7 separate regions of the Homo sapiens genome follow, and all the other regions are linked to region 4. Evidence: promoter capture Hi-C in human tissues and cell types (Jung and others, 2019). All regions are on one chromosome and are shown on one strand. The core of a region is centred on a gene start or on the middle of the fragment in contact, and the rest is flanking DNA. Distances in the headings are between cores, read along the strand shown. Region 1 holds the start of NTMT1 (N-terminal Xaa-Pro-Lys N-methyltransferase 1). Region 2 overlaps CIZ1 (CDKN1A interacting zinc finger protein 1). Region 3 holds the start of TOR1B (torsin family 1 member B). Region 4 holds the start of LRRC8A (leucine rich repeat containing 8 VRAC subunit A). Region 5 holds the start of TOR1A (torsin family 1 member A). Region 6 overlaps PRRX2 (paired related homeobox 2). Region 7 holds the start of PTGES2 (prostaglandin E synthase 2).

What was found. Contacts are between HindIII fragments. The study calls those that stand out against the background at their distance.
Region 1: a contact is called between a fragment that was not itself captured here and the fragment with the promoter of LRRC8A in region 4, in 1 of the 25 tissues and cell types used here (dorsolateral prefrontal cortex).
Region 2: a contact is called between a fragment that was not itself captured here and the fragment with the promoter of LRRC8A in region 4, in 2 of the 25 tissues and cell types used here (liver and lymphoblastoid cells).
Region 3: a contact is called between the fragment with the promoter of TOR1B here and the fragment with the promoter of LRRC8A in region 4, in 4 of the 25 tissues and cell types used here (IMR-90 fibroblasts, dorsolateral prefrontal cortex, hippocampus and 1 more).
Region 5: the fragment with the promoter of TOR1A here is called in contact with the fragment with the promoter of LRRC8A in region 4 in 1 of the 25 tissues and cell types used here (dorsolateral prefrontal cortex).
Region 6: a fragment that was not itself captured here is called in contact with the fragment with the promoter of LRRC8A in region 4 in 1 of the 25 tissues and cell types used here (spleen).
Region 7: the fragment with the promoter of PTGES2 here is called in contact with the fragment with the promoter of LRRC8A in region 4 in 1 of the 25 tissues and cell types used here (spleen).

What each region holds. Positions count from the first base shown.
Region 1 is chr9:129,625,649-129,629,770 of GRCh38, forward strand. It overlaps NTMT1 (N-terminal Xaa-Pro-Lys N-methyltransferase 1), which reads left to right and starts at 515. Exons shown (of 4, transcript NM_014064.4): 1 at 515-647. RefSeq lists an enhancer at 488-1,026 and a silencer at 640-879. The HindIII fragment of the contact is 3,089 bases long and covers 308-3,396 here.
Region 2 is chr9:128,173,972-128,178,218 of GRCh38, forward strand. CIZ1 (CDKN1A interacting zinc finger protein 1) reads right to left here. Exons shown (of 17, transcript NM_001131016.2): 10 at 3,595-3,792; 11 at 2,380-2,504. Among named protein-coding and RNA genes, the nearest start is that of CIZ1, 15 kb to the right of the region's middle. The HindIII fragment of the contact is 7,872 bases long and covers 1-4,247 here.
Region 3 is chr9:129,801,772-129,805,627 of GRCh38, forward strand. TOR1B (torsin family 1 member B) reads left to right here and starts at 1,413. Exons shown (of 5, transcript NM_014506.3): 1 at 1,413-1,640; 2 at 2,302-2,567. The coding sequence starts at 1,442. RefSeq lists silencers at 1,493-1,622, 1,683-1,802. The HindIII fragment of the contact is 20,911 bases long and covers 1-3,856 here.
Region 4 is chr9:128,880,280-128,883,970 of GRCh38, forward strand. It overlaps LRRC8A (leucine rich repeat containing 8 VRAC subunit A), which reads left to right and starts at 1,854. Exons shown (of 4, transcript NM_019594.4): 1 at 1,854-1,971. KYAT1-SPOUT1 (KYAT1-SPOUT1 readthrough) reads right to left here and starts at 1,671. Exons shown (of 25, transcript NR_182311.1): 1 at 1,618-1,671. KYAT1 (kynurenine aminotransferase 1) reads right to left here and starts at 1,671. Exons shown (of 13, transcript NM_004059.5): 1 at 1,618-1,671. RefSeq lists an enhancer at 1,741-1,890 and a silencer at 1,921-2,200. The HindIII fragment of the contact is 17,929 bases long and covers 1-3,691 here.
Region 5 is chr9:129,821,665-129,825,804 of GRCh38, forward strand. TOR1A (torsin family 1 member A) reads right to left here and starts at 2,472. Exons shown (of 5, transcript NM_000113.3): 1 at 2,244-2,472; 2 at 917-1,182. The coding sequence starts at 2,421. RefSeq lists a silencer at 1,857-1,946 and an enhancer at 2,357-2,666. The HindIII fragment of the contact is 10,199 bases long and covers 1-4,140 here.
Region 6 is chr9:129,687,267-129,691,241 of GRCh38, forward strand. All of the region lies in intron 1 of PRRX2 (paired related homeobox 2), which reads left to right. Among named protein-coding and RNA genes, the nearest start is that of PRRX2, 24 kb to the left of the region's middle. The HindIII fragment of the contact is 4,845 bases long and covers 1-3,975 here.
Region 7 is chr9:128,125,208-128,128,978 of GRCh38, forward strand. PTGES2 (prostaglandin E synthase 2) reads right to left here and starts at 2,522. Exons shown (of 7, transcript NM_025072.7): 1 at 2,232-2,522; 2 at 37-234. The coding sequence starts at 2,510. It overlaps PTGES2-DT (PTGES2 divergent transcript), which reads left to right and starts at 3,322. Exons shown (of 1, transcript NR_024425.1): 1 at 3,322-3,771. RefSeq lists enhancers at 2,043-2,122, 2,763-2,882 and silencers at 2,263-2,552, 3,193-3,392, 3,423-3,532. The HindIII fragment of the contact is 32,314 bases long and covers 862-3,771 here.

The sequences.
Region 1 (4,122 bases), core at 602-3,101, 750 kb after region 4:
TGAGGCCAGGAGTTCAAGATCAGCCTGAGCAACAGGGTGAGACCCCGTCTCTAATTTTTTTTTTTTAAAGAAGTCAAATTAGGCCAGGTGCGGTGGCTCACGCCTATAATCCCAACACTTCGGAAGGCAGAGGCGGGCGGATCACTTGAAGTCAGGAGTTCGAGACCAGCCTGGCCAACATGGTGAAAACCCGTCTCTACTAAAAATACAAAAATTAGCTGGGTGTGGTAGCTCACGCCTGTAGTCCCAGGTACTCTGGAGGCTGACGCAGGAGAATCGCTGGAACCTGGGAGGCAGAGGTTGCGGTGAGCCGAGATCGCGCCACTGCACTCCAGCCTGCTTGACAGAGCAAGATTCTATCTCAAAAAAAAAAAAAAAAAAATTTAAATTATTTTTCAAAAGAAGTTAAGTTAAATCCGGAGCCCGCGCGGGGGAGGGGCGAGCTGAGCGAGGGGGTGGAGCCAGCCATGGGCCCGCCCCTAAACGCCCGGAAGTGACGTTGGCGGACAAAGGCAGCGCGCGCCGCGAGCTGTCGCGTCTGGTCGTGGTCTGGCGGAGCTGCGGTTGGCTTGTGGCGTCTCCGCCGCCGCCGCCCTCCCTTCCTCTTCCCCATCTTCTTCTCTCGGTCCCGGGAGCCCCCGCCCGGAGTGAGTAGCGCGAGGCGGTGCGAAGGGTAGGCAGCCGCTGGGAGAGGGGAGGCTGCGACCCCTAACTGTTTCGGCGCCCTGAGGTCCCGGGTCCCCGGCTCGTCACGTGACCCGGCGCGTGCGCGCGGGCCGGCACAGGCCTCACGTGCGCGTCCCCAAGAGGTCTACGGGCCGGACCTGGGCAGGGACTACGGAGCAGTCCATGGGTCGGGGTACAGGAGGAAAGTCAAGGCACTCAAAGCCCAGGCAGGGCACTCCCCCACCCCGGTCCCCAGACCGCAGCAAATCCCTTTCTCTGAGCCTGTTTCCCTTCCGAGAAACAGGGATATGGAGAGCGCCCACTTGGAGGATGGATGGGAGGAATCGGTAAAATCGGTAAAATGCCCAGTTCAGAGCCTGGCACAGTTAAGTGCCCGCTGCACAGAAGTTGCTGTCGTATTTAACCTTGGGTGCCACCCGAGCGCCAGCCCGACACAGGTGCAGCTCAAAAAAGACAGCCCGAGAGCCCTTGCGGCCAAGGTCAGCCTGTCTGCAGGGAGGCTGCCATATCGAAAAGCCCAGACTTTGCTGCGCACCAACTGTGTGATCTCTCCCTCTGGACTTTGGTTTCTCCTCTGTACTATAAGTGATTGCCACAACTGGTGTCAGAGGCCCTGACAGCGGGGAGGGACAGTGTAACCGGTGGTTGTGGTGTGTAGAATGATTGCCCAGTGAGATGGGATGAGCCTCTGGGAGGAACCAGGGCTGGTATAAGGAGCCTGGATTCCCTCCTTAATTCTGTTCTCGGCTTCCTGTTTGTATGTTTAAAGACACGTCACTTCCTTTAGTGTGCTGGTTTTTCTCTATGTAAACTGAGGACTGTGCGGGGGTTGGAAGGATGCATGGAGCGTTTTGGTGGAGGCCGGAAGCCCTAGGATCACAAGGATGGCATCTAAAAAATCTCGGTGGGGGTTCTGTGCTTATAGGCAGAGGAAGCTCACTCCCCACTCTGGCTGATTTGCAGAGCTGTTTGAGTCTGCTGGCTTGGCCGCCCAGCATACCAGTAACAGTCCCCTAGGTGTGTCCAATACAGCTTCTGTGGCATTCTAAGGCAGTTTTCCCATTTGATCCTCATAGTGGGCAGAGTTGACAAGAATCTCATTTGACAGAGATTTCTAAGCTCAAGAGAGAATATGTGCCCGGCACTGTGCAAAGCACTTTAAGCTTTTCATATGCACTTTTAATCACAGCCTTTCTGTAAAGTCGGTATTACTGTTCCATTTTATAGGTGAACTGAGGAATGGTGAGGTTTAATGTCTTGTCTGTGCTTACACAGCAGGTGTGCAGAGCCAAGATTCAGATCTGGTTCATCTGGCTCCATCAGAGCCTTTGTTAGTTTTTAAATGTATCCCCTGTTTTGTCTTCTTCCCTCCCTTTCTCACTTCCTTCTTTTTCTTAGAGCACTCTGCCGTTTGCATGTGGCCTGCTGCTGTCCACAAAGATCCAGGGAGGATGGACTCTGTCCACTAGGCTGCTAGAGGGTGGAGGTAACTTTTAGGCAGGCTTTTCCGTAGAGACTTACGTGAGGAGGATGAGATGACTGCAAAAGTCTGCCGGTGACAGTTTCAGCACTGTTTTCTTCCATGGGTCGTGGGAGAAGAGATGCAGTACCTTGGGTCTGAACACCTTGGCGGGGAGGAGGAGGCAGCAGCCAGGTGACTGTGAAGGATGTAGGATCACATTTACTGGCTGAGCAGCCATTTACCAGGCATGAGGGGTTTGTCTTCCTCTCTGAGCTAGCCTAGAGTGCACACAAAGCCCGTGTGCTCCTGGCCCCCTCCCAGGCCCTTCAGCCACATACGGCATCTGTGCTCTGGAGCAGAGTGTAGCAGGACCACCTGCTGTTGGCTGACTGACCTTGCTGTTCCCTCAGACTCTTAGGGACCTCCTCCTGCCCCACTCCAATCTGGACACCACGAGGCAAAATGTAGCCAGGACCCCAGGAATCCCGTTTATTAATGAATCAGCTGTTAGGGCAGATGTCAAAGTCAGGCTTGCTATTTCCCGGCCAGGATGTGCCTCCCCTGGCTTGTTCCCAGAATTTGCGTGTAAGTGGAATTCTTGTAAATTAGATTATTCAGGGGACCCTGACATTTAAAGGAATCATGTTACAAGGCTTTTGGTAAAGCACAGAATTATATTGTCGGTAGCAGCCTTCAGGCCTTCAGTATTTACCAGTTCTGAATGGTTGGACTTTTGTCTGTAGGATTTTCTTAGAGTGGAAAATGGCTATAGCTGCACAAAGCCCATTCTTGCATTATTTGGCAACCAGTTAGTCAATGCCCACCTGGTATCAGGCACTGGGCTAATGGTGTACAAGGTAATGTCTCTACCCCCAGGAAGCTGCATGCTGGGAGAGGAGACGGATGGAGTCCAGCCTGGTATGTGTTTGCCCCCAGATTTATTCTGTTCATTTGATCAGAGGTGAACTTTCTGTTGAATATTTGTGTTTCATGGGATGCAAGAGAAGCATGGTGATAAATCTCAAATGTTGCCACTGCTCTCAGGAGCTCCCCGGCCAGGCGAGAGAGAGAACTGAATACAAAACCTTCAGTTTGCCAAGTTGGGCGGTGAGAGGGAGACAGGCTTGCTCTCGCCATGGTCCAGTCTGAATGGGAGTTGTGCCAGCATGGTGTGGAAGAGTAGTAGTTCGTTTTTTAACCTTTGTCTTTAATTTTCCCAGCCACCAAGTGTTTTTTGTTTTTTGAGACAGGGTCTCGCTCTGTTGTCCAGGCTGGACTCAAACTCCTGGGCTCAAGCAGTCTTCCCACCTCAGCCTCCCAAAGGGCTCAGGTTATAGGTTATAGGTTATAGAGTAGTTTTGAATGCCGTCCTCTCTTGAGTGACTGATGGAGGGCTGTGACATGGTTGCTCCGGTACCTGCTGGCAGAGGGGCAGGCAGCCCACCTAACCTGGTCCTTACGCCATCAGACCATAGCAGCCACCAAACCCAGCTACATGGTGACATTCAGATTGGTGGCCCTTTTTCCTGTCAGCTACCCGGGCACATCTAGCAGTCTTGAGGATTGGCAGGTCTGGTGGGAAGAAGAATTCATTCTTCTTCTTCTTTTTTTGACACAATGTCTCACTCTGTTGCCCAGGCTGGAATGCAGAGGCAGGATCATGGCTCACTGCAGCCTTGACCTCCCAGGCTCAAGTGATCCTCCCACCTCAGTCTCCCTAGTAGCTACTAGAATGTGTGTATTTTTGACAGAGATGGGGTTTCTGAGCCGTGGGCTTCTTTCTCCTTCCGGCAGTGTTGTTCCCAGTGCTGGGACACCAGTGTGGGAGCTTTGTGGTCAGCTTGCGGGGAGGGTGTTATGTGCAATATTTAGAACTAAGGTCCTCCCCAGCCTGTTACCCCAAAGGGCTCCCTGATTGGTGAAGTGACTGCTGCCTTTCTTCATTGTGGCTGAAACCCTTGTGCGTGAACAGT
Region 2 (4,247 bases), core at 1,597-4,096, 710 kb before region 4:
CTCCAGCCTGGGTGACAGAGCGAGACTCCATCTCAAAAACAAAACAAAAAAACAAAAAAAAAAAACAAAGAAATAGCTAAGGTAGGCAAGGGCTTAGTTCACAGCACCTGCCCTGGGGGCTTTGAGGAGGGAGGAGACGGGCACCCCCACCAGCTAGGGTATTGGGATCCAGCCTTCAGCCCCATTCCTGGGAACACCCCCCTGCCTTCCATGGGGAAATGTATTTCCATGTGGTTTGGGTAGAGCTGGCCTGCCTAGGCCTAGCCAGTCAGAACACCTTATCCCTGGCCAGGGGATTGCTTCAGAAACGTGCACGTGACCACAATCAGATTAACCAGCATTTCCACTAGAAACTGTTCTGCTACCGCAGACACAGGTGACTGCCCTTCCTTGGAAGTCACTGTGCAGGGAGGCTGGGGCTGTGGGTACCTGGTGCCCACTGTAGTGAGAGATGGAGCCTCTCTAAGAAATGGTATCCCCTGGGTCCAGCTGTATCTCTTATATTCCCACTAACCTAAGCCAGAAACATTGTTCCTTTTTGCTCAAGCTAATTTCTGTCTTATAGAAATTAGAATTTTTTTCACTTACAACCGCGAAGAACCCCCACTGATGCAGGAAGACAGTATTGATGTCTTTGTGTTGGGGACCAAGGTGAGGGGGTCGTAGGTAGGGACTGGAGGGACTTTTTAAATTTTTGTTGTTGTTTTTGAGACAGAATCTCTCTGTCACCCAGGCTGAAGTGCAGTGGCGCGATCTCGGCTCACTGCAACCTCCGCCCCCAGGTTCAAGCAATTCTCCTGCCTCAGCCTCCCGAGTAGCTGGGATCACAGGCATGCACCACCATGCCCAGCTAATTTTGTATTTTTAGTACAGAGGGGGTTTCACCATGTTGGCCAGGCTGGTCTTGAACTCCTGACCTCAGGTGATCCGCCCATCTCAGCTTCCCAGAGTGCTAGGATTACAGGCCTGAGCCACTGCGCCTGACCATAATGTTCTTGATGGCCTCAGGGCCAAGTAGGATTCAAGAGAAGACTTCATGGAGAGATAACATTGGGAGAGGGTTTGATGAATCCCCGACACCTCAAGTTTGTTAACAGCTTGTGCTACGTATGTCCTTTTAGTTTTCTTCTGTGTCACAAGATCTATTCTTACACAAACAAGCTCATTCTGCAGATGCAATTTTGAATCCTGTTTTACTTTGACATTGCATCACCTTTCCACATTATTATAAATTCTCCAGTTATTCTATTTATTCATTGTTCCACGAGCTGGACGGGCTTTTTCATCATCTAACCAGTCCCCTACTTTCGAGTATTTTAGATCATTTCCCGTTAGATTTTTTCATCATGATACTAATAGCAAAGAACGTCTTGGTGAGTCATCATTCTCCTGTGTTTATGATTATTTCAACCAAGTAGAAAACCACTCAAGGACGCTCTTCTCAAAGGGAGAAACAGCTAACAGAGACACAGCCTGCCCTTGCAGAGCGAGAGCCCCCTGTCACACAAGGCAGGCAAGCGGAGGCCAACCAAGAGCCCTTCCTGTCCCCTCAGCCCCACCTGGAAGCTTCAAATTGTGACCTCTGTAAAATTAGGACAGAGCCCGTGACCACTGACTCAAGGGACCGTCCAGCCTATGAAAGTGTTTGATTTGCTCTCCGTAGGGTTTGTTTTGTTTCAATTCTGAACTAGCTGTTAACATTTTGAAATTGGGAGATTTCACATACAAACCTGGATTTCTGGATTCTTCTTAAAACTAAGAGATCCAGAGATGAGAAGCAGCTGTCTCCTGAGACAGAGCCTGTGTCCCCGCTGTGGCCCTAGCTAACATGGTCCTGCTGCTGAGATGACACATCCCAGCCCTTGCACACCTCTATGACTGCCCACAGAGTCCTGAAAGCACCTCTGGCTGCCTGCCAGGCCTTCCCACCCCAGTATAGTTCCAGACCCCAGGAGGGCTGAAGTTTCTGATTAAACAGGCTCCCATGACAATGAAAGGGGGAGACACAGGGAAACCCTAACCTCCAACCACAAAAGAACCTGATCCTCAGCCTTGTCACCCCACAGCGGGGTTAGCACACATGCCACAGGGGGCAAGAGTCTGTGCCACAACCTGTCCTCTCCCACAGGGATGGTCATACTGTTCCTGCCTAGAGGGAACCTTAAGAGAATGTCATGAATTCCTGTACTATATCCGTCACCAAGCCATGTTACAGGCAGGGAAAACTGAGGTTCAAGGTCACACAGTTAACAGTGTGAGGAGGCCTGGCTGGGGGTGCAGTGCTTAACCCAAAGGTAAACCCTGCAGATGGTAGATTCAGGCCCTGGCCGATGAGACTGCCTACCCCCCAACACAGAGCTTCCACGATCCCCCACTCACTCATCCTCTGTCTCCAGGACGTCCCGGGGCACGGGCAGCAGGGACAGGAGGCAGGCTTGGCTCATGTGCTGGATCTCCCCTAGCCGCTGCTGGTGCTGAGGCTCCGACATGTGGTCCTGGAACTCCTGCAGCAGGAGGGAAAGAGGGATGGGCCTGGGGCGTGAGCCCAGAACAGTGGGCAAGGCTGGGGCCTGGGGAGGCAGACCCCAGCCTCATCACTGTGCGCCCATTTCTCTCACCACACATTTCTCTCTTGTGTAGGCTAGAGCAGGCATGATAAACTAAGACACAGGGTACATGCCAGCCCGAGCTTCTGCCCCTCCCAGAGAATGTGTGAGTGCCTCAAAGACAAGGAGCGGCCTGATTAGCATCCAGGTCTCCAAGGCTGTGCCAGGTGAGGCACAGAGTAACACAGCTCACAGCACAAGAGTAGTAATACAAGTACAATGCGATCATGATTACTGCTACACTCACTTTGGGCCAGGCCTGCGCTCAGGACTCCAATGTCACATTGCTGAATCCCCAGAACCACCCAGTGAGGTGGATTCTAAACGTTTCTTTTTTTTGTTTCGTTTTGAGAGTCTCGCTCTGTTACCCAGGCTGGAGCACAGTGGCATGATCTTGGCTCACTGCAACCTCTGCCTCCTGGGTTCAAGCAATTCTTCTGCCTCAGCCTCCTGAGTAGCTGGGATTACAGAAGCATGCCAACACATATTTTTAGTAGAGACGGGGTTTCACCATGTTGTTCAGGCTGGTCTCAAACTCCTGACCTTGTGATCCACCCACCTCAGCCTCCCAAAGTGCTGGGATTACAGGCGTGAGCCACTGTGCCCGACCCTAAACTTTCCTTTGTCTGATGCAAGAGGAAACAGGCACAGGGTGGAATTCGCTTTCCAAGGTCTCCCAGCTACTCAGAGCCGATATGAACCAGGTCTGACTGACTCTAAAAACCTGCTTGAGCCCAAGAGGTAGAGGCTGCAGTGAGCTGAGATCATGCCACTGCACTCCAACCTGGGAGGCAGAGTAAGACCCTGTCTCAAAACAAAAAACAAAACCACCAAAACCTGCCTTCTTGGCAGGTCAGGAAATGTTTCCCAAGCAAATGCATGGCTGCTTGGGGCAGGGCCCATTGCAGCCTGAGGCATTCTTGGGAGGGCAGGCTGGGCATTCCACGCAGGCCCCACCCCTCCCCACCCTTATCTCCTGTATCAGTACCTGCTGGCTGGAGCAGCTGGCCTTGCAGATGTAGCAGAAGAACTGGAGGGCCTGCTTAGAGGGAGTGCTGGTAGCCGCAGGGGTGGAGGAGACGGAGTCACTGGGGCGGGGGACAGGTGTCAGGGGTACAGTGCTAAAGGCCCGGCTGTCACTGCTCTGCAGAATGGTGACCTTCAGGGAGCCCCCGGCGCCCCATACCTGCATGGGGAGTAGGAACTGAACTTCCATCAACTGTGTACTTATAGTGGGCCAGCCCAGCATTCAACATCTGCCAACGTTGTCTCATCAGATCTTCCTGATGATAGGGAAACTGAGGCTCTGAGCTGTTAGCTGACTACCCCAGCTTGCACAGCTAGAAAGCACTGCAGTCAGGATGCGAACCCAGGTCGGCCTAAAGTACCACTCATCCCACCCCTTGTATGACAGATGGGGAAACAGACTCAGGAGGGAAAGGGTTTGCCCACAGTTACGCAGAGCTGGGACCCAAATCCCACAGAGAGGCTTCCACTCTGTGCTCTCTCCACGAGAGCAACATTACCCATGCGAGGAGACTGGGGCTCTGGCTTGGGGATGGGCAGGCTGGAAGGGACGGATGTGAAGACAGCACAACAGCAAGAGGGTCCCATGCACACCACTATCAAGCCCAGCCTGGT
Region 3 (3,856 bases), core at 163-2,662, 920 kb after region 4:
GGCGCAGCACGGAGAGTTCGCAACTGTTTCAGGAAGAAGGCAGGCGGGTGGGCCGACCCAAGAAACGCACATTATACCTCCGGCGAAGTGAAGGGAGGGATAACAAAGCAAAGCTTGAGGGCTCCGAGAAGCTCTGAAGAAAACAAATCCAGCCATAAGCCCACTCCTGTAACCCCAGGCTTTGGAAGACGGAGGCAGGTAGATCGCTTGAGGTCAGGAGTTCGAGACCAGCTTGGGCCACATGGCGAAACCCCGTCTCTACTAAAAACACAAAAGTTGGCTGGGCGTGTTGGCGGGCACCTATAATCCCAGCTACTCCAGCAGCTGAGATGGGAGAATCGCTTGAACCTGGGAGGAAGAGTTTGCAGCGAGCCGAGATCCTGCCACTGCGCTCCAGCCGGGGCGACAGAGCCAGACCCTGTCCCCAATATACATATCAGATAAGAAAAAAATATAAGAAAGTTTAAAAAAATTTTTTTTGGCTTTTTTTTGTTTTTTTTGAGACGGAGTCTCGCTCTGTCGTCCAGGCTGGAGTGCAGTGGCACGATCTCGGCTCACTGCAAGCTCCGCCTCCCAGGTTCACGCCATTCTCCTGCCTCAGCCTCCCGAGTAGCTGGGACTACAGGCGCCCGCCACCATGCCCGGCTGATTTTTTCTATTTTTCGTAGTGATGGGATTTCACTGTGTTAGCCAGGATGGTCTTGATCTCCTGACCTCGTGATCCGCCTGCCTCGGCCTCCCAAAGTGCTGGGATTACAGGCGTGAGCCGCCGCGCCCGGCCAGCCTTTTTTTTTTTTTTTGAGACAGTTTCGCTCTTGTCGCCCAGGCTGGAGTGCAGTGGCACGATCTCGGCTAACTGCAACCTCCGCCTCCTGGGTTCAAGAGATTCTCCTGCCTCAACCTCCCGAGTAGCTGGGATTACAGGCGCCCGCCACCACACCCATCTAATTTTTTGTATTTTTAGTAGAGACGGGGTTTCGCCACGTTGAGCAGGCTGGTCTCGAACTCCTGACATCAGGTGATCCGCCCGCTTCAGCTTCCCAAAGTGCTGGGATTACAGGCGTGAGCCACGGCGCCCGGCCAAAAAAAAAAAATTTTTTTTTTTTTTTTTAGATATTTTTTCACTCTTGTTGCCCAGGCTGGAGTGCAATGGCGTGATCTCGGCTCGGCCTCCCAAAGTCCTGGGATTACAGGCGTGAGCCACCGCGCCCGGCCCGAAAAAATTTTTTTAAAAGAAAAGGGAAACAAAACAGTCTCCTACACCTTCGGACCACTCCCAAGAACGATGGCACCGCCCTCCTCTCCGCCCCTCACCAACATGGCCGCCCCCAAGGGAGTGGGCGGGTCTGCGGGGCGGAAGTGACGCACGAGAGGAAGTCCGTCCTGCCGCTTGGCCGCGGGGCGCCTGGCTCAGTGGCTTCTGCGGGCTTCGAGGAGCGGGATGTTGCGGGCTGGGTGGCTCCGGGGCGCGGCGGCGCTGGCGCTGCTGCTGGCGGCCCGAGTGGTGGCGGCGTTCGAGCCCATCACCGTGGGCCTAGCCATCGGGGCCGCGTCGGCCATCACCGGCTACCTGTCCTACAATGACATCTACTGCCGCTTCGCCGAGTGCTGCCGCGAGGAGCGGCCGCTCAACGCTTCGGGTACGGCGCGCGCGCGAGCTGTGGGTCGGCGCTGCGGGGGGCGCGGGGGCGCGGGGGCGCGGAGGGACGGCCTCGTGGGCGCCTGGCACGGACCGGGCCCGTGGCATCTAGACGGCGGTGGTCCCAGCTGGGGTGGGCGGGGAGCGGATGGGGCGGCCCCGGAACCGTTCGCGGGAACGCAGAAGCGGTGCCTTCGCAAACAGTCTCCAGATCGTGGGGCTGCCCCAGCGCCTTTCTAAAGCTCCCGTTCCTTGGGATCACAGGTGGAAGAAACGGAAAGTAGGCGGGCGGCCCTTCTGCGCCCTGCCAACCCTATTAAGTAGTTTTCAGACGTGCTGCGTCGCCCAGAAAGCCCACATTTGGCCCCTGGTTTTCCTGCAGGTCAGCAAGGGTGGCTGGGATTAGCAAGCGCTCAGTCAAGCGATGGTTCATCTCTGAATGAATGAACATTTAGCTTCCTTATCAGACCCCGAAGCGTTAAGGACCTCCACATAATCTTGAAAGTGGCATCGTTTGACTGCCTCGGCCCTAGGGTGTGGCAGACACCCTGCTGTGTCCCTGGATAATCTGTGCTTCTTGCTTTGGCCAGCTAAGAAAGTGCTGCGTTGCTGATGCATTTTTAAGGTCTGTTTCTCTCTTTGTTCTGGGGCTGTTCTTGCAGCTCTCAAGCTGGATTTGGAGGAGAAGCTGTTTGGACAGCATCTAGCCACGGAAGTGATTTTCAAGGCGCTGACTGGCTTCAGGAACAACAAAAATCCCAAGAAACCACTGACCCTTTCCTTACACGGCTGGGCTGGCACAGGCAAGAATTTTGTCAGTCAAATTGTGGCTGAAAATCTTCACCCAAAAGGTCTGAAGAGTAACTTTGTCCACCTGTTTGTATCGACTCTGCACTTCCCTCATGAGCAGAAGATAAAACTGTACCAGGCAAGAGAACCCGCTATTATCTCGTCTGCAGGCCAGTCGGACTGGTCCGGGTGACCTGCTCACTAACTCTGGCCTCTGCTTCTCTTTCCTTTGTGTTGCTGTAGCCCCCGGCTCCACTGAGTTAAGGCACACTTAGTCCAGGTAGTTACAAAGCTCTCCTACAACATTTCTCTTACTTGGTTCCAAAACAGTCCAGTGGGGTAGGGGATGTTATTTCCATTAAAAGATGGGGAGCCAAGGGCCTGGCGCCGTGGCTCACGCCTGTAATCCCAGCATTTTGGGGAAGCCGAGGCGGGCGGATCATTTGAGGCCAGGAGTTTGAGACCAGCCTGGCCAACATGGTGAAACCCCATCTCTACCTAAAAGTACCAAAATTACCTGAGCACGGTGGCACGCACCTGTAATCCCAGCTACTTGGGAGGCTGAGGCAGGAGAATCGCTTGAACCTGGGTGGCAGAGGTTGCAGTGAGCTGAGATCGCGCCACCGTACTCGGTCTCAAAAAAAAAAAAAAAAAAAAGGCCTGGCACAGTGGCTCACGCCTGTAATCCCAGCACTTTCGGAGGCCGAGGGGGGCGGATCACGAGGTCAGGAGATGGAGACCATCCTGGCTAACACGGTGAGACCCCGTCTCTACTAAAAATACAAAAAATTAGCCGGGGATGGTGGCGGGCACCTGTTGTCCCAGCTACTCGGGAGGCTGAGGCAGGAGAATGGCCTGAACCCGGGAGGCGGAGCTTGCACTGAGCCGAGATCGCGCCACTGCACTCCAGCCTGGGCGACACAGTGAGACTCTGTCTCAGAAAAAAAAAAAAAAAAGAGAGATGTAGTCAGGGCCAGGTGCAGTGGCTCACGCCTGTAATCCCAGCACTTTGGGATCCGCCAAGGCGGGCGGATCACCTGAGGTCGGGAGTTCGAGACCAGCCTGACCAACATGGAGAAACCCCGTCTCTACTGAAAATACAAAATTAGCCGGGCGTGATGGCGTGCGCCTGTAATTCAAGCTACTTGGGAGGCTGAGGTTGCAGTCAGCTGAGAATGGGCCACTGCACCCCAGCCTGGGCAACAGAATGAGACTCTGTCTCAAAAAAAAAGAAAAAAAAAAAAGATGGAGCCTGGAGCCCAGAGGCAAGGTGACTTACTCCTACAATCTTTGTAGCAGAACAGGACCTTTGTAGCAGAACCAAAACCTCCCAACTCCCAGTTGACATGGTAGCCACCTTCTCTGGTGAGTGAAGGGATTCCACATCCCCAGCAGTGCAGTTGGTGAGAAGGGGCAGTCAGTCTTCAA
Region 4 (3,691 bases), core at 604-3,103:
GTCAATAAATAGTTACTGGATGCCTGTTGTGTGCCAGGCCCCAAGACGGGTGTTGCGTGACTGACAACAGAAAAAGCATCTCAGTGGCGAGGGATAAGCTAGATCATGGGCATTAGTGTAAATCTCCCAGGGTTCAAATTCCAGCTTCTCCACTTCCTGGCTATGATTTTTTTTTTTTTTTAGACGGAGTCTTGCTCTGTTGCCCAGGCTGAAGTGCAGTGGCCCAATCTCAGCTCACTGCAAGCTCTGCCTCCCAGGTTCATGCCATTCTCCTGCCTCAGCCTCCCGAGTAGCTGGGACCACAGGCGCTCGCCACCACACCCGGCTAATTTTTTTGTATTTTTAGTAGAGACGGGGTTTCACCGTGTTAGCCAGGATGGTCTCGATCTACTGACCTCGTGATCCGCCCGCCTCAGCCTCCCAAAGTGCTGGGATTACAGGTGTGAACCACCGCGCCCGGCCCTGGCTATGATATTGCTAAGTTTCCTAACCTCTCTAAGGTTCTTTTCTCTTCTATTAAAAGGGAAAAATAAGACCTCCCAACAGAAGTGAAACTAGGCATTGGCTTAACACGTGATGGATGGGAGCCACGACTATCTTCATCATCTTATTTTTAATTATCTATCTGTGCACATGGTAGTAAATTTCTCGCCCTGGCCCAGGTACCCAAGACCCCAATTCTGTCGGAGACAACCGCAATTAACAACTTCTTGTGCATCTTATCAGACAGCTGGCGCGCACACCCGCAGATACGCCCACCCTCAGGCGTCCTTCTACGCAAAGATGGATAGCACCCATCAACGCTGTTTTTTCTTTTTTTAGACGGAGTCTCGCTCTGTCGCCCAGGCTGGAGTGCAGCGGCGCGATCTCGGCTCACTGCAAGCTCCACCTCCCGAGTTCATGCCATTCTCCTGCCTCAGCCTCCAGAGTAGCTGGGACTACAGGCGCCCACCACCACGCCCGGCTGATTTTTTTGTATTTTTAGTAGAGATGAGGTTTCACCAAGTTAGCCAGGATGGTCTCGATCTCCTGACCTCGTGATCCGCCCGCCTCGGCCTCCCAAAGTGCTGGGATTACAGACGTGAGCCACCGCAACCGGCCCAACGCTGTTTTTACTGTTGTTTCCTTTTTTAACCTAAGGTATCTTAGAAGTCACCCTACATTAGTGCATATTAAACATTGTTCGTCTTAATGGCTGCACAGTATTCCACTGTATGGATTATTTTTTAATTTGGTTGCCGGTACTGTTATCAGCCAGGGAATTTGCGAGGACCCAGCGGGATTTATGGAGCTGCAGAGTTGGAGTCTGGGGACCCAATTCCAACCCCAGATCTGTCCAGAATTCTGTTGTCTCGGGTATCATCTCCACCGGCGCGGTCGTGGGAGGGGGATTTGGGTGCAGACAGGACCAGCCCCAGTGTCCGAGCGAGAATCAGCGAGCAGCACGCGCAGTTGATTCCCGCGGGCGGCTCAATCATTCTGTGCAGCCACTCCGTTATACTTAGTAGCATCAAACTCATTAAGCACTCTAGCACAACCAAGCTCGGAACCGTTAGCCGACCCTCCCAGCCTCGGCACCTGACCTTGGGGAAGTGGCGCTCCGACACAGCTACTCACCCTCACCTGGGCCGCTTCACCCCTCGTTCCCAAGTACACCCCGTAGGTTGCAGCAGTCCCTGTCCCTTTAAGGGGGCCGAGCCCGGCTCCGCTACTTCCGCCCCGAAGCAGCAGGGCGCTAGCGCGGAGGCGAGAGCGGGAGAAAGCGCCGCTAGAATTCTCCTCATAAAGATGGCGACGCCCTGGCCGCCGCGTTCGCGCCCGGCGGTGACGTCACTTCCGGGGCGGAGGAGGCTGAGTGGTGCAGTGAGGGACAAACAAAAGGAGGCGCCGGAGCAGCGCTGCGGCCGGCGGCGGGACGGAGCGGCCGGGGCCTGGGGCTGCCTGCCGGGCGGCCGGGCGCGGCGAGCCCAGGTGAGTGGACGGGGTGGGGAAAGGGGCGCGAGCTGTCACCTCTCGAAACCCACTTACACACGCCCTCGGCCAGCTGCCCGGCCCGGGGCGCCCGGGGCATCTGGGGCTCTGTCTCCGGGCCGGCCCCCTGGGGACCTCCCGCGGTGTTCGGCCTACCTCTGGGCTCCCCAGTGCCCGGAGTCTCCGGGGCACCACCTTCTCGCCGGCTCCGCGGCGCGCGAGCCCCCTCCCAGGCACCCCTGTGCCTCCTTGTGCTTCAGAAACCAGGAGTTTCCGCCTCGGCTCCCCCATGTCCCCTTGTCATCCCCTGGGTCCCCCCAGATCCTCACCCCTCCACACACACTCTCCCGTTCCTAGAGGTTCCACCTCTGGGCTCTCTCCTTGCCATTTCTTTTTCAAAGATTTCCTTAGCTGTCTTCTCCTGAGTTCCTGGTCCCCTTCTCTTCCCTTGCACCCCTCCTTCCTATCGTTCCGATGGGGGCAGTGCCCTGACTTGGGGGCAGGATCCCCGGCTAGGCTCTTGGGGCCTTTCTGGGATGGGATATTTGGGAAGACCGGTCCGGAATCTAAGAACCCAGACCCTGTCCCAGTCCTGTGCATTCAGGTGGGCCCGAGGGCGAGGCGAGATCCAGTGAGGTCCAGGCCTGGTGCAGCCCTAGGTGAGCTGGATACCCAGCAAACTGAGCTCCCAGGCTGAAGGGGCATAGCTGGGGTCATGGAGTTCATGATGATTCTGCTGCTTTCGCTGACTGCTTCTTCCCCTTGATCTGGACCGGGGTGAACCGAGGTCTGCCGGTTCTCAGCTGTTGCGATTGTTGCCTTTTTTGGGAAGGAGGGATGGGTCGGGGGTTGTCTGGTAGCCGCCTCCTGATGGAGACTTGGCTGGAAGGGTGGGCGGTTCCTGGGTGAGCCACACTTCCACTGACTCCTCTTCCCCTGCCCTACCTCAGGAAGCCTTTTGAGAATGAGGTGTGGAGGGAGAGCACCTGGTAAGAGGAAGGGAACTGGGGGAGCCCGAAGTTCCCAAGGACCTCTTCCACCTCTTCTGTTAGTAGTACTCTTAACCCCTGCCAAACTGTATTCTGCCCTTTGGAGCAGACAACCTGGCAGACAGACAGGCTGTAAGAAGCGGGAGGAGATCGGCTGTTGCTGATACTTCCTGTGGAGGGGATGTGGGAGTGGGAGTTTGTTCAGAGAGACTGGGCAGTGCTGATTGCTCAGTCTCACTGGTGTTGCTTCCATGAAGGTCAAGTCTTCCTCTGGCTCATGAAGTGAGGCAAGGACAGATGACCTGTGCTGGAGGAGGCTGTTGTGGACATGCCAGGGATGAGTGACTGGGTGGCTGGTCTCTGCTTCCTTGTTTTCCTGGTCTCAGGGCTTTGGCATGGGGTCTGATGCCCTCTGCGTTCTAGGGACCATAGGGTACAGAGCAGGGGGTGCAGGGCCGGGCGTGGTGGCTCACGCCTGTAATCCCAGCACGTTGGGAGGCTGAAGCGGGCAGATCACGAGGTCAGGAGTTCGAGACCAGCCTGGCCAACATAGTGAAACCTTGTCTCTACTAAAAATACAAAAAATTAGCCAGGCATGGGGCTGCGCACCCGTAATCCCAGCTATTCGGGAGGCTGAGGCAGGAGAATTGCTTGAACCCAGCAGGCAGAGGTTGCAGTGAGCCAAGATCGCGCCATTGCACTCCAGCTTGGGCAAGAAGAGCAAAATTCCA
Region 5 (4,140 bases), core at 1,222-3,721, 940 kb after region 4:
AGGCAGATCACTTGAGGTCAGGAGTTCGAGACCAGCCTGGCCAATGTGAGGAAACCCCATCTCTACTAGAAATACAAAAATTAGCCGGCTGTGGTGGCACATGCCTGTAGTCACAGCTACTTGGGAGGCTGAGGCAGGAGAATCGCTTGAACCGGGAAGGTGGAGGCTGTAGTGAGCTGAGATGGCGTCACTGCACTCCAGCCTGGACAACAGAGTGAGACCCTGACTCAAAGAAAAAAAAAAAAAGGCAGTTTACAACAGTAGGTTCAACAAACTTAGGACTCTACATGTTTCCTCTTTCACAAAATGAGTGAGATGTGGCCAGGCATGGTGGCTCACGCCTGTAATCCCAGCACTTCGGGAAGCTGAGGCAGGCACATCACCTGAGATCAGGAGTTCGAGACCAGCCTGGCCAAGTTGGCAAAACCCCATCTCTACTAAAAATACAAAAATTAGCTGGGCATGGTGGCAGGACCCTGTAATCCCAGCTACCCGGGAGGCTGAGGCAGGATAATTGCTTCAACCGGGAGGCAGAGGTTGCAGTGAGCTGAGATCATGCCATTGCACTCCAGCCCGGGTAAGAAGAGTGAAACTCCGTCTCAAAATAAAGAAAAAAATAAAAAAATGAGTGAGATGTGTTGATCTCTAAGATGGATTTGATCATGTCCACCTCTAAAATCCCATGACCCTACATACTCACTGGACCGATTTTCAGAACCCACCACAAAGCTTTGATGGTATTAACTGCTCCACGCATCTCAAACTCTTAACTTCTACACCTTTCCAAGGGGAACTGAGACATGAACCGTTTTCCGGGCTCACTCATTTCAACATAGAACTCCCAAATCTCATCCCACAACAAAGAGACCCCAAACCCGATGACATCCAGGAAGGGATTCCAAACTTCCATCCTTGCCTTGTACAAGGTGATGTTTGAAGCATGTGGAAAGTGCAATGTGGCCACAAACAGGTGGACATAGTCACTGTTCAGACCACCCTCGTAAATATTCTCTGCGATGATCTTGCTGACGAAATTTTTGCCGGTGCCTGTCCACCCGTGCAGGGAGAGCGTGAGAGGTTTCTTGGGCTTTGGGTTGTTTATGAAACCAAACACGGCATTTAAGATGATTTTCTTTGCAAGATGCTGTCCAAAGAGGTTGTCGTCCAGATCCTTCTGCAGTGCTGGGAAAGACAAAGCCAATCAGGAGTGGGGAAGAAACAGCGGCAAAATGTAGCCACATTTACAGCCCATAAGAAAGCCAGCAAAGCCGTCTAGACGCCCTCCAAGCACCTTGCGAAACCTCAAGTACTGCGGTCTGTAAGCTCCTGGCCCAGAGGGGACGGCGGTCCAGGGAGCCCTCCCTTTGCTGGTCCTGCCTATTCTAAAGCCCTGGCCCGACTCCTTCCCGAAAAGCCCCTTGGTGCCACTGCCACTGCCACCAGTTTGCACCCCTAACCCCTGTGCTGCTCCTCCCACCCCAAGGCAGAGCCGGGAAAGGAAACAGTTTGGTCCCTCCTGGTCGGCTGCGGAAGAGTCCTCACCATCCTTCCTGTCTCCCGCTAGGCTAGAAAGGAGGCAGAACCCACTTCGGAGGGAGGTTACCACTGGTCCACCCCCAGCTTAGCGCAAAGTAGGCCAACCTGCAGCCTGGCTCCTCAGGTCTCCGACTTAAGTCTGGCACGTCTGTGGTCATGGCCGAGGAGCCAGGCCTCATCCTGCAGGCCGGCCGCTTGGCTTCCGGGGTCCGGCCCCCGCGGACTCAGCTCTGCCCAGGCCCGGCCCTCCTGGGATGTGACCCCTACCCCGGCCTGGCCCTAGTGCCATCCCCCAGCCCCAGCCCCAGCCCCAGCCCCCGCTCCTGAGCCCCAGCCCCCAAACTCCGCTCCAGCCCCAGTCCTAGCCCGGCCCTACTGCCATCCCCCAGCCTCCATCCACCATCCTCAATCCCCTAGCCCCAGCCAACCGCCCTGGTCTTAACCCAGCCCTAGTGCGATCCCCCAGCCCCACCCCCAGCCCCCGGGCCCCGCTCCATCCCCCAGCCCCAGCCCCAGCCCCAACCCGGCCCTAGTGCCATCGCCCAGCCCCAGCCCCCAGGCCCCGCTCCAGCCCTAGTCCTAGCCCGGCCCTGGTGCCATCCCCCGGCCTCCATCCTCCATTCTCCATGCCCTGGTCCTAGTTCAGCCCTAGTGCCATCGCCCAGCCCCAGCCCCAGCCCCAGCCTCCAGCCCCCGCCCCAGCCTACCCTCCCGGCTAAGGCTCCGCTTCTGCCCGCAGCACTCGGCGAAGAGGCAGTAGAGACGCGGGTAGATGTAGCCGGTGAGGACGCCGGCCAGGGCCAGTCCCAGGCTGATGGGCTCCACCGCCTGCACCACGGACGGCGCCAGCAGCAGCAGGCCCAGCACGGCCCGGCCCAGCTTCATGCCCGGACCCGCGCCACCCTGCTTGTTCTCGCGCCGACCGCGAACCGGTGCAGCCGCCAGACCCACGCTTCCGGTTCCTCCTCTCGCGGAGGCCATCTTTCTTCAGGGCAGCCCTCCTCCCGACGCCGGCGGCCGCCATCTTTGTTCGGTACAAAGCCCTGTTTTGCTTCCGGAAACTCGGTTCTGCTCCGCCCCTGTTGGCCACGTGTTTTTGTTTATGGACGTTATTTTTGCCAGGCATGGTGGCTCCTGCCTGTAATCCCAGCCCTTTGGGAGGCTGAGGCGGGCGGATCACCTGAGGTCAGGAGTTCGAGACCAGCCTGACCAACATGGTGAAACCACGTCTCTACTAAAAATATAAAATTAGCCGGGTGTGGTGGTAGGCACCTGTAGCCCTAGCTACTGGGGAGGCTGACACATGAGAATCGCTTGAACCCAGGAGGCGGAGATTGCAGTGAGCCGAGATCTCACCACTGCACTCCAGCCTGGGAGACAGAGCAAGACTGTGTCCCCTCCCCGCAAATAATAATAATAATAATAATAATAATAACGGACGTTATTTTTTAGAACAGATTTACAGAAAAATTGAGAAGATAGTAGAGAGTTCCCATGTGCCACCCATCCCTGCAATTTCCCCTATTACTAAAATCTTACATTATTAGTGTGCTACATTTGTTAAAATTAACGATGCACTGTTGTCATATTAACTAAAGTGTAGTTTATTCAGATTTCCTTCCTTTTACTTAATGCCTTTTTCTGCTGCAGGTTTCCATTCAGGATACCACATTATATTTCGTTGTCATGTCTTAGACTACTGTTAATGACAGTGTCTCAGCCTTTTATTTTTATTTTAGCTGGAGTGCAGTGGCATGATCTCAGCTCACTGCAACCTCTGCCTCCCAGGTTCAAGCGATTCTCCTGTCTCAGCCTCCTGAGCAGCTGGGATTACAGGCACACACCACCATGCCCGGCTAATTTTTGTATTTTTGGTAGAGACGGGGTTTCACCATGTTGGCCAGGATGGTCTTGATCTGACCTCATGATCTGCCCGTCTCAGCCTCCCAAAGTGCTGGGATTACAGGCGTGAGCCACCGCGCCTGGCCTCAGCTTTTTATTTTTGATGACCTTGATAGTTTTGAGGAGTACTGGCCAAATCTTTGGTGGGCTGGCCCTCTATTGGGATTTGATGTTTTTCTCAGGATTAGACAAGCGTTATGGCGTTTTGGAAGGAAGATCACAGAGGTAAAGTGCTATGCTCATCACATCCTACCAAGGAAGGGTTCTTACTGTTCAACGTTACTTACCACTGTTGGTGCTGACTTGATCACTTGACTGAAGTAGTGTTTGTCAGGTCCCCCCACCCCTCTTTTCTCTACTGTACTCTTTGGAAGGACGTCCCCATGCACAGCCCACACGTAAGGAGTCGGGGATTTTGCTCCACCTCCTTGGGGGCAGAGTATCTACAGAAATTATTTGGAATTCTGCATGGGAGATTTGTTTCTTCTCCCCCATGTATTCAATCATTTATATCAGTGTGGACCATTGTTATTTTATCCTTTGTTATACTACAGTACTAATTTTTTTTTCAAATTGTTCTCATTTTGGCCACTGGGAATTTGAGTGGTTCCTTGTGCTCCTTTGACATACACCCAGTGTATATACCAGCTTATTTGGGTTTGAGTGCCTCTTTCCTTTCTGACACTACAGGATACTCCGGGC
Region 6 (3,975 bases), core at 939-3,438, 810 kb after region 4:
CACAGATGCTTCATGGAAGGAAAGGGGCAAAAGTGGCCTCGAGGCCTGGCAGGGGTGTTGTTCAGCGGGCCCCTCGGGGTTGGTGAGGGGTGTGGAGGGCCCCAGGGACCCCTGTGAGTCCTGCCACCTGACCACCTTCCAGGCATCATCTCAGAATCCTTACAATGATCCATGAGTGGCTGGGAAACTGAGGCACAGAGAGGAGGAGCCGCGTGCCAGAGGAAGGGCTGGCAGCCACTCCACCGTCACTAACTCAACTTGCTTGCGCTGTACCAGCCGGCTTCCCTCTGCACACTCAAGGCTGTGTCAACAGTGGCGCCTGGCACAAGGGTGGTGCTCAGTAAATGCTGCCTGGATGAATGAATGAGTGACTCACAAACTATACCCTTTTGATCGCTGCGCCAACTCCGTGGAATTCTAGCAGCCTGGTTGGTGTGGGAACTCATCACACCCGAGATTTGGGGAGCAGAAAGGTAGCATGGCCCAGGAGACAAGGGCAGGCAGACAGACTGGCTCAGACCCTGGCCGGGCAGGCCTAGGCAGGCAGCATCAGCTCTCTGAGCCTCAGTTTCTCCTTTTCTAAAGCAACCTGATGACAGTAGCCCCCTCGCACAGTGATTGAGGGTGGATGAGAAAGGGCTTTCTGGAGGTAGCGGGGACAGTCTGTCACTCAGGCTGGAGTGCAGTGGTGCAATCACTGCTCACCGCAGCCTTGACCTCCTGGGCTCAAGCGGTCCTCCTGCCTAAGCCTCCTGAGTAGCTAGGATTACAAGTGTGCACCACCACGCCTGGCTAACTTTTATATTTTTTGTAGAGATGGGGGTCTCACTCTGTCACCCAGGCTGGAGTGCAGTGGTGCTATCTTGGCTCACTGCAACCTCCGCCTCTGGGCTCAAGCCATCCTCCCACCTCAGCCTGCCAGGTAACTGGGACTACAGGCATGCCACTACCATGCCTGGCTAATTTTTGTCTTTTTTGTAGAGATGGGGGTCTCACTCTGTTGCCCAAGCTGGTCTTGAACTCTTGGACTCAAGCGATCCTCCCACCTCAGCCTCCTAAAAGTGCTGGGATTATAGGTGTGAGTCACCGTGCCCGGTCAAGAAATGGCTTTGAGGACTGGGAAGAGCCCCATGATATAATGGGGGTCATTTGAAGAGCTACCCTGGACCTGTGTCTACAGTGTGGTCTCTGATCATGAACTCCCTCCCACAGTCTCTGCCCCAGGTGCCTTCCTTTCCCTACCCCGCAAACACGCAGTAGCACACTGACCTCACGTTTCTCCCAAGAAGCATCATCCACGTCAGGACAAGGTCTCTTGACTCTGAAGGAGAACAGCCAGGAGGGCTCACTGGGTCCACATTTCTGTCACTCTGTCTCCTGCCATTCAATGGCATGGGCCCCAAAGAGACACCTGAAACCTGGGAGCCTAGCAGAGCTAGGACAGGAGACCAAGCCTGGAACCCAGTGTGAGGAGGCTGAAGCAAACGTGCACAGGGGTTCTGGGCATCAGGAGAGGGCTTTTCCAGTTGGGTCTTGTAGGATGAGTAGGAGCCCATTGTTTACTCTCTTCACCAGTTCACACAGCACCACCCTCTGGTTGGGTGGCTCTAGGCCTAGCATCCTCCCCTCTGCGGCCTCAGGCTTCTCATTCATAGAATGGAAAGGAAAGGAAAGTGTCTGTCCTGTTGCTGGAATCATACAGAATAGAATCTTTTCAGGTTGGGTCTCACAGAAAAGAGGTGAAGTGTGCACGAGGCCAGAAATGTTGTGTGTCGTTGGCTGCGGGTAGGCTCATGGCTTAGGGGTGCTGGTTTGGCTTCATGGCACAGAGAGACACTCCTGTGCTCCTGAACACACTCCTGTCTTCTCTCCATTTCTCTCCTCCTTCAAGCTTCCCTGCCTTCTCCACCCCTAAGCTCTTCTCTGAGCTCCCAGAGCACAGGGGTCTTCAGTAAGAAGCCTGCCTGCTTCGGCTGGAATCCTGCCTCTGCCACTTGTGCAGGTCACCATGCTCCCTGAGCCAGGGCTTCCTCGTTTGGAAAAGGGGAGTAAGTGATAATGCTTGTCTCTCAGGACTGCCAGATTTCGGTGTGACCAGGCATTTGGCTTAGTGCTCCGCTTGAAGGAATTGCTCCACGCGAGTTAGTGGCATCCATCATCATTTCCCATTCTCCCATCTCCCACTGTGCGTGTTTGCTTGAGTTATCACCAATACCAACCCTGTAAGTAGATGTCGCTTTTGCAGATGAAGATACCAAGGCTTATTTGGGACAAGTGGTCCCTGGCCATAGGGCTGGGCCTCAACTCTAGGCTGGTCTGATGCGCAAAGACCTTGCACTTGGTGTCGCCAGTGAGTGGTCCTCAACCCTGGCTGCACGGTAGCATGAGCTGGCGAGCTTTCAATGAATGCTGATGGCCAGGCCTCACTCCGAACCTGTGGAGTCCGACTCTCCGGGGTGGGGGCGGGGGCTTGGCATCTTATTTTGCTTATTTATTTATTTATTGAGACGGAGTCTTACTCTTTCGCCCAGGCTGGAGTGCAGTGGCACAATCTTGGCTCACTGCAACCTCTGTCTCCCAGGTTCAAGCGATTCTCCTGCTTCAGCCTCCCAAGTAGCTCGTATTACAGGCGCGCGCCATCACGCCTGGCTATTTTTTGTATTTTTAGTAGAGACGGGGTTTCACCGTGTTGGCCAGGATGGTCTCAATCTCTTGACCTTGTGATCCGCCCGCCTCAGCCTCCCAAAGTGCTGGGATCACAGGCGTGAGCCACCGCGCCTGGCCAATAGCATCTTATTTTTAAAGGCTCCACCCTCTACTGCTCCCCAGTAATGCCCCGTGCAGCTAGGGCCGAGGCCCTGTCCCACCCTGCTGCCTTCATCCCTCCCACCTTACCCAGCCTGTCCTCCTCTCCGCTGCGATCCTCTGTTTTCAGGGCTGCGTCATTCTCTCCCTGAGAGTTGGCCTAAGAGCTGGGGCCCGAGTTTTCTCCAACATGACTTTTCCAGCCCTCTGGGCACACTTTTGAGGGTAACAACTCACTTTAGAAAGGCCCCTGCTGCCCGGCGCAGGTGATGGAGTTGGCACACAGGTTGTATCACGCCAATGGGTAGGATCTGAACCCTGATCAAGGTACCCAGGATCTGGAGACCTGAGAGGGCCCTCCCAAAGGCAGCAGCTCTGGGGGCTGCTAGTCCTTGGACAGACATGACTAGCACCATAAGTACGGTGCCAGCTCTTTTTTTTTTTTTTTTTTTTAAGACGGAGTCTCGCTCTGTCACCCAGGCTGGAGTGCAGTGGTGCGATCTCGGCTCACTGCAGTCTCCGCCTCCTGGGTTCAAGCGATTCTCCTGCCTCAGCCTCCTGAGTAGCTGGGATTACAGATGCCTGCCACCACTTCTGGCTAATTTTTTGTATTTTTAGTAGAGATGGGGTTTCACTATGTTGACCAGGCTGGTCTTGAACTCCTGACCTCATGATCTGCCCGCCTTGGCCTCCCAAAGTGCTGGGATTACAGGCATGAGCCACCGCGCCCAGCCAGTGCCAGCTCTTAACTCTCAAATGGGCTCTACACCATGAGGCCATCTCCAACAAAACACAGCTGCATATGGGTAAGGATGAGAGGAGAGAGGCAAAAATAAGACCCTCTCCTTTAGGTGGGCTGTAAACTAGAGTGGTGTGCTTGTGCCCGCTTGTCCTACTGCACAAGAGCCTATTGTTAAGTTTTTAGAATTTTGGAAGCTGGTTGTCAAACACAGATATTATTAAAAATTAAGGCCCGGACACAGTGGCTTATGCCTGTAATCCCAGCACTTTGGGAGGCTGAGGCGGGTGGATCACTTGAGGTCAGGAGTTCGGGACCAGCCTAGACAACATGGTGAAACCCTGTCTCTGCTAAATATACAAAAAAAAAAAAAAAAATTAGACACGCGTCATGGCGGGAACCTGTAATCCCAGCTACATGGGAGGCTGAGG
Region 7 (3,771 bases), core at 1,272-3,771, 750 kb before region 4:
AAGGAGGAAGGATGCAGGGGGTTCCCTGGGGCTCACCGAGCTTTCTCCTTCCTGGGCCACCAGGATGGGCACCTTTCTGTAGGAGGAGAACTTGATCTCAGCCCTGCGCACAGGGTTCACCTCCACCACCTGGTAGGGCAGGGCATGGAAGTCGAGGAAGGCTCGGACCTTGCTGCAGAAGGGACACGTCTTGTACTGGTACAGGGTCAGCTGCAGGCGGCTGGACAGGGAGAGCTGCGGGCAGCAGACGGAAAAGGCTTCTAGACCTGGCACCCCCAGGCCCAGGCCCTGCCCCCAAGGGTGTTTTCCAGAGGAGTCTTCTGAAATGACGCTAGAACATCGGGAAGAGGAACTAGAGATGGAAGGGGGCGGTAGGGGAAAGGGAGGCACTGGACAGCAGCCCAGGTTTAAGCCCCTGGCCAGCACGGTCCCCAAGCAGGAGTCCCACCCTTTGCTGCGAGGTTGTGTAGGAGGAATCTTCTAGTCTCTGTCCCATACTGGACAGACCCCTCTTTTCTCACTCCAGTCCCAAGGGGACACCAGACAGCCCCAGGGTATACACCCCACTCCCACAGACATGGAACAACTGTTTCAACTTGACTTGTTCACTCTCACTCCTCTAACCCCAGGGACCTCTGGGGGCAGAGCTGGGCTACCACCCAGGCTCATGTTCACCAGTGGGGTCTACCTCCAATCTCTTTCTTGTTTTTTTCTCTGGAGACAGGGTCTCACTCTGCCATCCAAGCTGGAGTGCAGTAGCTTGATCACAGCTCACTGCAGCCTTGAACTCCGGGGTTCATGTGATCCTCCAGCCAAAGTCTATCTCAAATATCCGAGGGGGAGGGTGGTATCTGAGCCAAGGCCTGCGTGTGGCAAGCTCCGCAGGAAAGCCCCCAGGGGAGCCTGCTGCACGTTCATGCCGGGAAGCCACAACTGTAGACCATCCCCCTGTGTTCAGAGGGGAAGCTGGACCGTGGAGGCAGGAAGGGAGACACAGAGTACTCCATGCCCTTTTTACCCACCTCTGTTCCCTCTGGTCCAGCAAATAAGCATCTGTGGGCGGGTGGTGGGAAGTCAAGTAATGAAGAGTTGCAAGGTGTGGGGTAGGTATAAAGTGTCTCAAGGCAGCTGGGCCACCACTTAGGGGGTCACCACTTGGGGGGGGCACCTTTCTACCTCTTCCTGTTTCAGCCTGGAGTCTAAGTCATCAGTTCCATAAAGGTACCACCACTACTACTAAATAAATACACAGCCTTAGGATTTGGGGGCAGTGGGGAGAGAGGATGATGAACGTTTGGAAAGTGAAAAAGGCTTTCCCTTTCCTGTGATCTCCCATCTCTTAATCAAAAAAGTCTTAAAACACGGTAGAGGCTGGGCTCCGTGGCTCACACCTGTAATCCCAGCACTTTGGGAGGCCGAGGCGGGTGGCTCATTTGAGGTCAGGAGTTCGAGACCAGCTTGGCCAACATGGTGAGACCCCCGTCTCTAGTAAAAATACAAAAATTAGCCGGGCTGGGTGGCAGGCGCCTGTAATCCCAGCTACTGGGGAGGCTGAGGCAGGAGAATTGCTTGAACCCAGGAGGCGGAGGTTGCAGTGAACCGAGATCGCGCCACTGCACTCCAGCCTGGGCAACAGAGCAAAAAAAAACTCCGTCTCAAAAAAAAAAAGTCTCCTTAAAACATGGTAAAGGCTGGGCGCAGTGGCTCACGCCTGTGATCCCAGCACTTTCAGAGGCCAAGGTGGGCGGATCACTTGAGGCCAGGAGTTCGAGACCAGCCTGGGCGACATGGTGAAACCCTATCTCTACAAAAAATACAAAAATTAGCAGGGCGCAGTGGGGTGAGCCTATAGTCCCAGCTACTCGGGAGGCTGAGGCAGGAGGATCCCTTCAACCTGGGAGGCAGAGGCTGCAGTGAGCCGCGATCGCACTCCAGCCTGGGCGATAATGCGAGACCCTGTCTCGAAAACATAAATAAACAAACCAAAAAAAAAAAAAAAAAAAAAACCACGGTAGAAGAACGATTTTATGAGAACTCGAACAATTCCAGGTAGTAGGCATCAGGAGTGCCCCTATTTTACACAAAAGAATACAGAGGGTTCGGAGACTTCAGACCAAGTCACTCGCCCAAGGTCACAAGCAGGCAGAGGCAACTCCTGACCCTGCGGGTTCCCAGGAGTCCCGAGTTCGGCGCTGATCAGCATCCCCATCCCCGGCCGGGCCAGGCCTTACCTGCGCGGCTGAGCGCTCTGCGTGGAGGTCCTGGGCGCGCAGGTGCCACCGCGCCGTGTGGTACAGCCCCAGGGCTCCCCCCAGGGCCAGCGCCGCAGCTCCCAGCAGCCGCGGGCTCCCCTTACGAGCTGCAGCCACGGGGCTCGGGCCGCCCGCCGCCCCCGCGAAGCCAGCCCGGCTCTGCGTGGGTAGCAGCGGCTGGGGGCGGCCTCCCAGCCTCCAGGCCAAGGCGCACCCACCAGGCCACAGCGCCCGCACCACCCGCGCAGCCGGGTCCATGTTCGCTCCGCCGGCGCCGCGGGCGGGCGCGCGAAACGAAGACGCCGAGGCACGCGCGGCGTTTAAAGGGCCAGGACTCTGGCGCCCCGCGGGTTGGCCGGGGTGAGGGCGACGCTAAGGGAACCCTCAGCGCTCTCGGGACTGGGCGTGTGCCCGGCGCCCAAGTTCGAAACGCCCGCCAGAGCCGCAGAGGCCCGCTCGGGAACGTTTGCAGACCGTTCCATGCTTCCGCCTCCAAAGGCTCTTGGGTAGTGACCCGGCCGACTGCAGGGGGGCGAACGTCTCCTCGCCCCACCTTGACCGCCTAAAGGGCGGCGTGGCCGTCTGTAACACGTACTTGCCCACCTCTCTTACGGGCGCCCATTCAAAACAACTCCAGCCCTTCCTAGAGTCAGTACAGGCGCCGCGACTTCCGGCCACTGAAAGCCCCGGAAACGACCCGACCCGGCACCAGGTGTTGCGGTTCTCTCTGCCCTCCCGCCTCATTGTCCGCTTCCTACTGTGACCCGAACCATAAAATTTTCCCGAACCCGAAGGGGCCTTGGAAACCACGTGTCTCTGATTTCGCCCACGCGAAGCGGCCGGCCCGCCGACCCCGAGATTTCCAGGGAGAGGATGGCAAAGTGGGGTGCCAGGCTGCTCGGTCCTTCTGCTGGGCTCCCCCGCCCTAGCTGAAGCCCGGAGCCTCCACCGCATAGGCGTCTCCGCGGACAGCCCCGGGATGGCCCCGCCCGGCGCCCGAGAGGGGGCGGGACTCGCAGAGTGGGCGGGGAGAGGGGCGGGGCGAGGGGGGAGCTCTGAGTCCCGGCTCTGCTGCTCCGCCGCGTCCCACTCTTCTCGCTCCGCTTTCGCCCCGCATCTTCCACCTTCCTTCCAGTCCTTGCGGCGACCGAGCCCGCAGTGTCAGTCCCCAGCGGGGACCTGAGTATGCCGGTGAAGACGAGAGCGGAAGGCGAGGACGACGGCTTCGGGGAAGCGGGTGACCCGAGGAGACTGCTGGAGCGACCTTGGCGTTTCCGGGGGTGCCTTCCCGGGAAGGGGAATCGGGATGTTGGCTTCGAAGGGACCGAAGGGCCCACCTCGACCCGCCCCGAGTGGGTTTGGAGTTGTAGGTGCTGTCTCGGATGCAGGGCGAGCACCCGCGAGCGGGTAACCAGTCCCGTGAGAGCTGCAGGTCCCCAGCCCCGTTTTACAGATAGGGAAACTGAGGCAGCTGCTGGGACACTCGCCCATATGGGTTTTGCTCCACCCACTTCCTTCA